3 separate regions of the Homo sapiens genome follow, and all the other regions are linked to region 1. The links are contacts of gene promoters, found by promoter capture Hi-C in blood cells and fetal thymus (Javierre and others, 2016). All regions are on one chromosome and are shown on one strand. The core of a region is centred on a gene start or on the middle of the fragment in contact, and the rest is flanking DNA. Distances in the headings are between cores, read along the strand shown. Region 1 holds the start of HAO1 (hydroxyacid oxidase 1). Region 2 overlaps PLCB1 (phospholipase C beta 1). Region 3 overlaps PLCB1 (phospholipase C beta 1).

Region 1 (3,643 bases), core at 1,011-3,510:
ACCCTGGCAGAATTTCTATTCTTAGTTTCACGTGACCAGCTACATGATGCAGTGTGAGGAATCAAGGTTCACCTAGCGAGTCATACAGCAAAAGAGGACACATTGCAAAATGTATTGCAATAAAAACTCAACTAGTTGATAATAAAATAGCATCAGCTGTCCTCCAAAGAAAGTTGATTGATTTTTTTTTTTAATTTAAAGCTGAACAAAAGAGAATGATCAAGGTTCATGGAAAAGGTGACACTGCAAATTCATTTTCATTATCTGTGTCCTATCCCTAAGTTACTCGGTACACACATAGGATGGGAATACTCACTTGAATACCATGTAATTCACATAAGGCATGAGGCACTTTTCCAGTTCATAACTTAGAAGTCACCAAGCCTTCTATGTCTCCCAAAGTTTCTACATTTTAAAGGGTTGCATAGGTGATCCATCTGCTTTGGGGCGCCCCTTTGCATCCTCTCTGAGACCTCCACTTGGCCAACTATTTTGGGCCCATTTTGCATCAATTCAACCCAACAGCATTATGGAGGCTGATATGCATCCAGGGGAATGTAAGTTCCTAGGGACAGGAACTTTGTCTGGCTCACTGCTTTGTCCTCAGCATGTAGTACACAGTGTAGCTCATGGAGACTCCTAATTAGCTCTAGTTAATTAGCTAGCATGCGACAAAGGGAATTAAGAAGTAAGGAAAGCTGTATACAAATGAAATAAATAATCACTTGAGCATTGGAGGTCTAGCAATGCTGAGACACTAACTCTATAAATCTGTCAAGGGTCTGAAATTTCCTTGGTTGTAATAACCTATTTGGGTTAAAGTGTTTTCAAGAGACCACTCATAGGCAAATTTTGGTGGACAAAGTTAATATCGGCCCAAGAAGGGGCATCTTCCAAGAGCAGAAACTTTTAAATGAGTCCAAAATAGTAAATAATGATGCAGAATTTTAAGCCCCTCTACTCTCAGTCAACTTCCCTTCCCATGACTTCCCTGGCATTTGTTGAGCTCATTTGGGTTCCAGGCAAAACCTGAGACAAAGTCAAGGCTTGAAAGGGTTGGGGAGAGGCCGTATCCTTCACCCCATTGCCATTTTCAGTCTTCTACATGGATTTGTGGGTGAATCAGTGCTGCCTACCAGAGACCACCTTGGCCAGGATAATTTTATTTCTCCTAATTTAAATATGGAAAACTGATTTTGAGTGATTTTGTTGTAGACTAAAGAAGAAATCAGGGAGGAAGGCTAATTCTCTCCCCCTGCATATTTTCTGCCTTTTTGTCTTTATCACCATCAATGAGTACCCACAATACCGATTGCCTTTACTAACAGCCATAATGTTAGATGGATGAGACTGAGTGTAGTGTAGTGAAGGCACTCCTCTCTTGCTCCAGCAAATAAACCATTTTTGTAACTGCTATAAAAAAAAACCCTTTGAAATGATTTTATTTCTTGTTTTTATTACAAACAGAAAACATAAACCATGTCACCCACCATCTTGTGCTTTGAAATATGAAAGTCAAAGGAAAACTAATTTGGGAAGAGAGATGAAGTGCTTTGAAGGAGAGATGAAACAGCAAAGTTGAAAGATTAATGCTGCATAGACAAATTGAAATCTAAAGTGAAAGTTTAGACAACAGTAATCAAAATGAATGATAACACGAAAAGCCAGCAGGAAGAAAACATTTGAGCCAACAATCCAGTCTGGTTCATCCGGATAAGATGGTTATCTGGCATTTAATGCTGTTTCCTACACCATGAACATAAGCATTTACTGTCATACTAAGAAAAAGAAAAGTCATCCGAATTTATCGCTATTTTTACATGTAGTTAAATTAATTGTTGTCATATTTCCAAGTGAAGTAACATAGGTTTGGCTTTTGCAGTCAGTTCCTCAAGATTCACAGGCTTGGAATATTTTTTAACAATTTAAAGGCCCAAGATTTCTTACAGCCCCAAGAACTTTTCCCTCTCTACTAAGCACAAATCTGAACAAATAATTACACACCACCAACGTAAAACTAGGAGATCTTATTTTGGTACGGTCTTTGTGTAATTTTAAAACATGATTTTAAAAAATAAATTTTCTTACCTGGAAAATGCTGCAATATTATCAGCCAAAGTTTCTTCATCATTTGCCCCAGACCTGTAATAGTCATATATAGACTTTGGAAGTACTGATTTAGCATGTTGTTCATAATCATTGATACAAATTAGCCGGGGGAGCATTTTCACAGGTTATTGCTATCCCAGATGGAGTTCGTTGTTTTTTTTTTTTTAATGTATTGCTTTCTACATCCTCACTGTTCTGTTATTTGTCAATTATTAATAGACTTTTGCCAAAGTTCAGATTTAGTTCTCTGTTGCTTACATCAAGTGAGCAAACATTATATGCTTAGCCTTTGAAATTTCATTTGTAGGCTATCTGCCAAAGAACACCGAAGTCACTATCTGCCAAAGAACACCAAAGTTGAGGTTGGGAAGGCAGCAGAAGGTGATTAGGTGTCTATCACATTAAAAAGGGGAAAGGAATAAGTAAAAAATTAAAGACTTAGAGGAATACCTGTATGAAACCACTCTTGGTTCAGTTTTGCCTAAGGCTGCTTATTGCACATGGTCTGTGCCTGTGCTCTTTGCTTGATACCCAGAATAGGCTGCCCACTCATTTTCTTTCCACATTTGGATCATGCACAAATCATGTAAACAAGAGCTTATGAACTGAACGGGGCATCCATGAAATATGGGGCATCCGTGAAATTCAGGGCTTCTGCACAATATAAAATTTAGCTGATTACAAACATAGACATTTGGCTTTAACATGGAACATTAAGGCCAAATTGACAGCTAATTGTTTTATTCATTCTGTATATTTGAGGTTTACAACATGATATTATGAGATACATATACACAGAAAAATGGTTACAGTAGGGAGGCCAATATAATATATGTATCATCTCACCCGTAATTACTTTTTTGTGTGTATGACAAGAACAGCTAAAATCAACTTATTTAACAAAAATTCCTAATATGATACAATTTTATTAACTTTAGTCCTCATTTTGCACGTTTGCTCTCTAGACCAGGGGTCCCAAACTCCCCAGCATGGACTGGTACTGGTCCGTGGCCTGTTAGGAACCAAGCTGCACAGCAGGAGGTGAGCAGCCGGTGAGCAAGCTTTACAGACTGAGCTCCGCCTCCTATTGTGAACTGCACATGCGAGGGATCTAGGTTGCGCCACTCCTTATGAGAATCTAATGCCTGATGATCTGAGGTGGAACAGTTTCATTCCAAAACCATCCACCTACCCCCACTGCCCATGGAAAAATTGTATTCCACAAAACTTGTCCCTGGTGCCGAAAAGGTTAGGGACCCTGTTGTAGATTTATGTATCCTACGTGTCTACTATTTTGTATCCTTTGACCTATATCACCCCTTTTCCTCTTCCCTGCTTCCCACTAGTGGTATTCACTGTTTCATTCTCTAGCTCTGTGCATTTGAAGTCTTTTTTAAAACAAAATCCCACCTATAAGTGAAATAATGCAATAATTTCCCTTTTGTGCCTGGCTTATTTCACTTAGCATAATGTTCTCTGGGTTCTACTGCAAATGACAGGATTCCCTTCTCTTATAAGGCTGAATAATATTTCA
Region 2 (3,304 bases), core at 484-2,983, 770 kb after region 1:
GTGGCTGCTTTGGGGCTATGCATTAGTCTGGACTGTCTCTATCTCTAGAGAGACAGAGTTATTAAAAGGAACTGGCTTATGTGGTTATGGAGGCTGAGAAATCCCAAGATCTGCAGTTGGCAAGCTGGAGACCCAGCTGACCTAATGGCACAATATCAGTCCCAATCCAAAGGCCTAAGAATAAGGAGAGCTAATGGTGTAAGCTGCAGTCCAAGTCCAAGTCTCAAGGTAGGAGAAGACCAATGTCCCAGCTCAAAAACAGTCAGGCAGAAACAGCAAATTCTCCTTTACTCTTTTTTTTTTTTTCCTATTCAGGCTTCCAGTGCGTTGAATGAGGCCCATCCACATTAGGGAGGGCAGGCTGCTTAACTCGGTCTACCAATTCAAATGTTAATCTCATCCAGAAACCCCTCACAGAGACACCCAGAAGAATGTTTAACGAAATATCTGGGCACCCCATGACCCAGTCAAGTTGACACATAAAATTAATCATCACGAGCTACAAAGGCAGAGTTGAACAGTTGCCATAGAAATAGAAACTATATGGCCAGCAAAGCCTAAAATGCTACCTGGTCCTTTATGAAAAAATGTATGCTGACCTCTGAGCTAGTCAATAGAAGAATAAATGGGAACACAACTAGATAAATTCTGTTTCTCTTCTGTCATATATTAGGAGTTCATTCATTCATTTGAAAGTATTTCCTGAGCATCTAGAATGTGCCTTAGCAGAACAGTGAAGAAAACAAGTTCTTACCTCAAGAAGTTTACACTGTCTAGTGAGGAAAGATAGATCAAAATAAACACAAAGATACGGTACATAGAAACATGCCCTTTAAAGCAATCTAAATCAGTGGGCAAGGAAAAGAGAGACCTGAATTATGCTGTCTGGATGGTAGAGGCAGGCCTTTGGTAAGGTGATGTTTAGGCACAGGTGCTGTACTTACTCCCAAATCAATGCAGTAAATCATGCTTTAATGTGAGTATTTTTGACTGAAGGAACAAAGTGCAAAGATGGTGAGATGAAAGCATGCTTGATGTATTCAAGGAAAAGCAACAAGATCAATGGACTGTATCCAGGTGACAGAGAGGGAGAGGAAAAAGAGATGTATTTAAAGAAATGGCAGGTGCCAGATCAAGTTAGGCTGTGTAGATTATGATAATGAATTTGGATTTCATTCCATGTGAAATGGGAGGTCATTGGAAAGTTTATAGAAAGGAGCGAAACTGTCTACTCATGTTTAGGAGCAATGACTCTGGCTATGGTGTGGAATACAGCGGCAAGTACTAGAAGCCAGGAAAGCAATAAAAAGACTGTCAGTCAGCTTCTCCTAGGTTTTGCTGCAATAAGAAGAAACCCTAGGATCACAGTGATTTACAACCACAACGGTTTACTTCTCACACAGGTTAGATGTCAGCTGTTGCTCTGATTGCTATTGTTTGGAATTCATGTTGAAAGAACAACCCACATCTATGATATCACTGGACTCATGGGAGAAGAGAAAGAGAAATGGCTGGACAACAACATGATGGGTCTTTAAGACTCTACTCAGCAGCAGCACATGTCATTTTCATACACAGGCCCTTGGCCAAAATAAAACCACGGCCAAGCCTATGGTCAACAGGGTGTGTAGACAGAATTCTCCCAAAGGAAGGGGGAAGCAAATACGTGGGAATGGTGATAAAATCTACCACAGCAGTCACTGCAGTGGTTTTTGTATCAGGATGATAGCAGTGGAGGTGCTGACACTTGACTGTACTCGGGACCTATTTTGGACAAGATTGCTGATGAATTGAAAGGTGTGAGAGAAGGAGAGGAGGCGAGAATGGCTCTACTGTATTTATCCTTTACCTGATACACTAGTGCCAAATTTATGAAATAAACAAAATCCAGCCCTTTTTTTCCACACTTAGCATCCACATCCTTGATGACCTCTATTCTCAGTTCTTTTGAGGGCTTTGCTCTTAGCTGGCTAAGATTATTAGCTGCATGGAAGTTACTGCAATGGTTGGGTATTAATAAGCTCTAGAGTCAGACAAATCTTCCTGGGGTTTAATCTTGGATTCTCTTCTCTATGACTTAAGGTAAGTCAGTTAATATCTCTGCACCTTAGTTGAATCAAGAATAGATAACCATCATGAGCTGAGTCCTTTGCCTTCTCTTGCTGCATCTTCACAACAGATCTGTGAAGTGAGGTTTATTGCACTTTATAGATTAGCAAACCAATACACAGAGGCATTAAGTGATTTTCCCAAGGTCACACAGCTTGCAAATCTCAGAGGCAAGGATTCAAAAGTCGGTTTGAATCCAAAGCCTATACTCAAATAAATCAAATATAGCATTTAAAATCTGGATGTTGCTTGCCTTTTATAGTGCTTGCTTTTTTTGACAGACTCAACTATCGTAAAAGTTAAACTGATTATGTATGAAAGATAATCTGTGAGTTCATTTCTAAGAAACAGTAAAAGTGATTCTTCTCGCTCCATGCAGGCAAATCCTTCTTAGAGGATATATGCAAATGTAGTACAGAATTAGAAAGCCTTACTTATACTCTGGGGCCAGGGAAATAGCTTTCAGGAGTGGATATAAAGAACGCTATATATTGAATGGGGAAGGTAGAGACGATAGCAGAAAAGGCTCAGGCATAAAGAATAGGAGTGGAAATCCCTATTTAAAAGGAGAATATGAAAAAAATAAATGTAACTAAAAACAAGTGTATGGGAATATGCAACCTCACTACTACTGAAAGTGATATAATTAAACAATAAATGAGACTGCACTTTACTACCAGTTAAATAAGAAAAACATTTTTAAGAATAATGCCCAAAACTGGTGAATATGCATTGAAATCTGGTCCTGCATGCATTACTCTGGGCAATCTAAAGTGAAAAGTAATTTGAAATACATGAGGGACTGTAAGAGTATTCATATTCTTAAATCAAGAATTCCCCTTCTGAGAATTCATTCCCAGAAAATCAATCAAGATATTAGGGAAAAAATGAAGCTGTTCTCTGTAGAATTATTTGAATGACAGCTCTGAAAATGTAGCTGTCCAACAGTTGGGGAATGGTTAAATCAATTTTAATACCTTTACTTTCTAGAATTTTGTACATATATTGAAACTTGTGACATATACATTTTTAAAAATGCAGATTGAAAATTGAAGTACTGATACATGTTACAACATGGATGAACTTTGAAACCATGCTAAGTGAAAGGTGGTCGGCACAAACAACCATATATTGTATGGTTACATTTATATGAAATAATTAGAATAGGCAAATCTATGAATACATAAAGTGATGA
Region 3 (3,326 bases), core at 473-2,972, 800 kb after region 1:
TATGTAACAAGGGCGATGAGATTTAGTTACATGTTTTTGTGACATGTTGTAGTATTAATGTTAGTCAACTCTTTCAACAATAATTATGTGTAACAAACAATCTGAAAACTTATATGCAAATATTTATCTTCGTGCTCATAGGTCTGTGGGTTGGCCGGGTTTGGCTAATCTAGCCTGGGCTCCGCAGCATAGCTGTGCTTCAGGTTCTGGGTTGGGTCTATGTCTGTCCCACATGCGCTCACTCTGGGGTCCAGGCTGAAGTGGCAGTTGCTTCTACAATATGGACTTCTCTTGGCAGAACACTGGAATGTCTAACTCTGCATGTGCATTTTAAGCCTCTACCTACACCAAATTACTAATATACTGTTGACTAAAGCAGAGCTTAAGCACAAGTCAAGAAATCACGTCAAGGCTGGGCATGGTGGCTCACGCCTATAATCTCAGCACTTTGGGAGGCTGAGGCAGGAGGATCTCTTGAGGCCAGAAGTTTGAAACCAGCCTGAGCAACAGAATGAGACCCTGTCTCTACAAAAAATAATAATAACAATTTTTTAAAAAAAGAAGTCATGTCAAGTATAATTCTGTTATGGGGGCAAGTTTGGATCAATAATTCAGTCTATGACATGTGATTTGGAATTATCTTTTGTGGGAAAAATCATACGGTTGGAAAGGAAAAAATCACATTGAATGTTTTCTTGTCTGATGAGAAAAATAATGCCTTATCATTCATAAATGTTATTAAAATGAAAAAAGTGATTTGTTTTTCATCTAAAGTAACCTGAAATACATGCTTTCATCACATAGATGCGCATAATTATAACTAACATTGGAAAGGAAATATGTGCTACACAGCATTATTCTCACCTTCCAGGCTATCACTATATCTGTCTAAGGAATGAAAGGAACCAGCCTCTGACGCTGCCTGCTGTCTTTGTCTACATAGAAGTGAAAGACTATGTGCCAGACACATATGCAGGTAAACAACTTAACTCAAATACCACTTTACTCAAAGGGGTATTTCTGTCTGAGTCACCATATATTTTTGGGTTAGTGAAAGGAAAACTGAACCAAACAAAGCAGGAGATTCTGGCTTCAGAATCACCCCTACTTTCGTATGTATGTTTAGAGGTAAATTGCTTGAGCCATTGTGAATACATTTTAATTTAACGTATTTTAATTAAAATCACAACACCTCAGTTTTTTGAATATTTATTCCCTTTTAGTCTTATTCTCATGGGCCCAGCACTTACCAACTCATGTTATCCATTACAACAAATGTCTAGGTCTGTACACTGAATTTGTCTTCCACCAATTTTAGAATGCTGATTCTTTTCATGGGTGACATCCTAAATTTAAGGAATTAACCAAGAATCATAAGTGTAAATGCTTATAGTGCCAAGTAGCTTGGGTGTAAGACACTGGGGAGTAGTGGAGACCATGGTAAGCTTGGGGCTGTCCATCCAAAGCTGGCAGCCATAACTCATTCCAGCTAGGCACTGCCCTTCAAATAACTATATTGGCAAATCATTGGGTTATCCCAACAGTCCGGAAAGCAGGCTTTTTATGTAAAATGTCTCCATTTATGAAACGTCATTTGGGCCAAATAGGACAATTGGGTGGGCCATTGCCGGAATGGATGGGACCTTCAAAAAGAAACTAAGGAATCAAGAATATTCAGGGATCCTGAGTTGAAGCCTGTCCAGTTTGACTCTCAGAACTAAACTCTTAATTTCTCTCTTCCTGAAGTTTCAACAGAGTCCTAACCCTTGTCCATGTTCAAAGTGTTGGATAGAGGAGTAGATAGTTATATGGGTAGACAGAAGAATGGAAGATGGATAATGACTGGGTGGATGGATGGATGGATGGATGGGTGGGTAGATGGGTGATGAATGAATGCATGGACTGATGGTCAGATAGATGAGTAAGTAGATGAATGATGGATAATCAATACTTCCAGGACCTTTGATCTAAAATATCTCTTCCCTATTTAGATGTCATCGAAGCTTTATCAAACCCAATCCGATATGTGAACCTGATGGAACAGAGAGCTAAGCAATTGGCTGCTTTGACACTGGAAGATGAAGAAGAAGTAAAGAAAGAGGTGAGAGGGTGTTTTAATTTTACATATAGCATTAAGCATGATCACCACACCTACTTGTTGGCTTTGCCTAAGTAATATCACATACCTTGGGAGAAGGAATAGCACATTGGAACAACACTTTCATGCAGTTTAGCATCATGTCACAGAACATCTAGATGATTGACTTAAATTTTTCACATTTCATTTTCTTTTGGCATTCTGTGGATACCACGAGCATCTTATCTTGTGATAAAATTAAACTGCACACATCTTGCTATTTCAGATGAAACTTTCTACATGATTCCATGCTAATTAAAGGTGATGAACGCATTTAAAAAGGAAGATAATCATCAAATCATTTAGGGTTTCCCTTTATCTTTAATGTAGCATGCAGGATTTTCAAAGTGCTTTTCTGATTTTTATAGTACATAAAATATTTAACACAATACCTGGAAAATAGTATGAGTCATAAAGAGTCTACTGTTATTATTAGATGGTATATTTATGTATTATAATGTGTGTCCTGCAAATAATTGATATATTATTCCAAATTAGATGTCACAATGCAAAGCATAATTAAGGAAGGGTCTAAAAATAGTAGAAATGAAGTTTAAATTTATAAAGCTTCTATGTAGACTGGCAGTCTTTTTGCTTTTAAAAAAAGTGAATTATAACTTGATTATTAAGGGTGACACTAATATTAAAAATAGTGATAAAAATTTGCTATTTTCATATTTTATTCAGAGGAAAAACTCGAGAAAAAAGATAGAAAATGGAGAACTGTCAGTATTGGGGGAAAAAACCTTGAAAATTGTTTTAATAAGTATAACTAATAGTTATCCATTAAATAGTCCATTTAAATAGTCTATTAAAGTTGACATTGTTAAGTAATGTTTTTCTTATTTCGAAAGCATCCTCGATTTATTATAGAAAATTTAAAACGTAAAAATGACAAAAGAAAACAACAAAGAAATCAACTGTAATTCAAACATCCCATCCGCTCAGAGATAGCCACATTAAATGTGGGGTGTATACATATCTAGTCTTTTTATGCACAATTGTTACTCTTTCATAAAATGGGATAATATTCACAGTCTGTGTTTTAAGTGAAAATAAAAGTATTAAGTATCTCATTGCCCATGTCATTAAATATTCTTCTATGACATGACTTTTAATAACTCATAGCCTTCTATCATATAGCTCCACCATAATTTAATTACTAAGTCCCCAATTATTGGATATTTGC

What was found. The method cuts DNA at HindIII sites, captures the fragments that hold promoters and counts their contacts. A CHiCAGO score of 5 or more calls a contact.
Region 2: a contact is called between a fragment that was not itself captured here and the fragment with the promoter of HAO1 in region 1, in 2 of 17 cell types (total B cells and fetal thymus). The highest score is 5.2, in total B cells.
Region 3: a fragment that was not itself captured here is called in contact with the fragment with the promoter of HAO1 in region 1 in 1 of 17 cell types (M0 macrophages); the score reaches 5.4 in M0 macrophages.

What each region holds. Positions count from the first base shown.
Region 1 is chr20:7,938,198-7,941,840 of GRCh38, forward strand. HAO1 (hydroxyacid oxidase 1) reads right to left here and starts at 2,261. Exons shown (of 8, transcript NM_017545.3): 1 at 2,089-2,261. The coding sequence starts at 2,225. The HindIII fragment of the contact is 4,903 bases long and covers 1-3,168 here.
Region 2 is chr20:8,704,692-8,707,995 of GRCh38, forward strand. The region is part of intron 11 of PLCB1 (phospholipase C beta 1); the gene reads left to right. Among named protein-coding and RNA genes, the nearest start is that of RNU105B, 120 kb to the right of the region's middle. The HindIII fragment of the contact is 3,557 bases long and covers 1-3,304 here.
Region 3 is chr20:8,739,473-8,742,798 of GRCh38, forward strand. PLCB1 (phospholipase C beta 1) reads left to right here. Exons shown (of 32, transcript NM_015192.4): 22 at 872-976; 23 at 1,992-2,101. Among named protein-coding and RNA genes, the nearest start is that of RNU105B, 90 kb to the right of the region's middle. The HindIII fragment of the contact is 558 bases long and covers 1,444-2,001 here.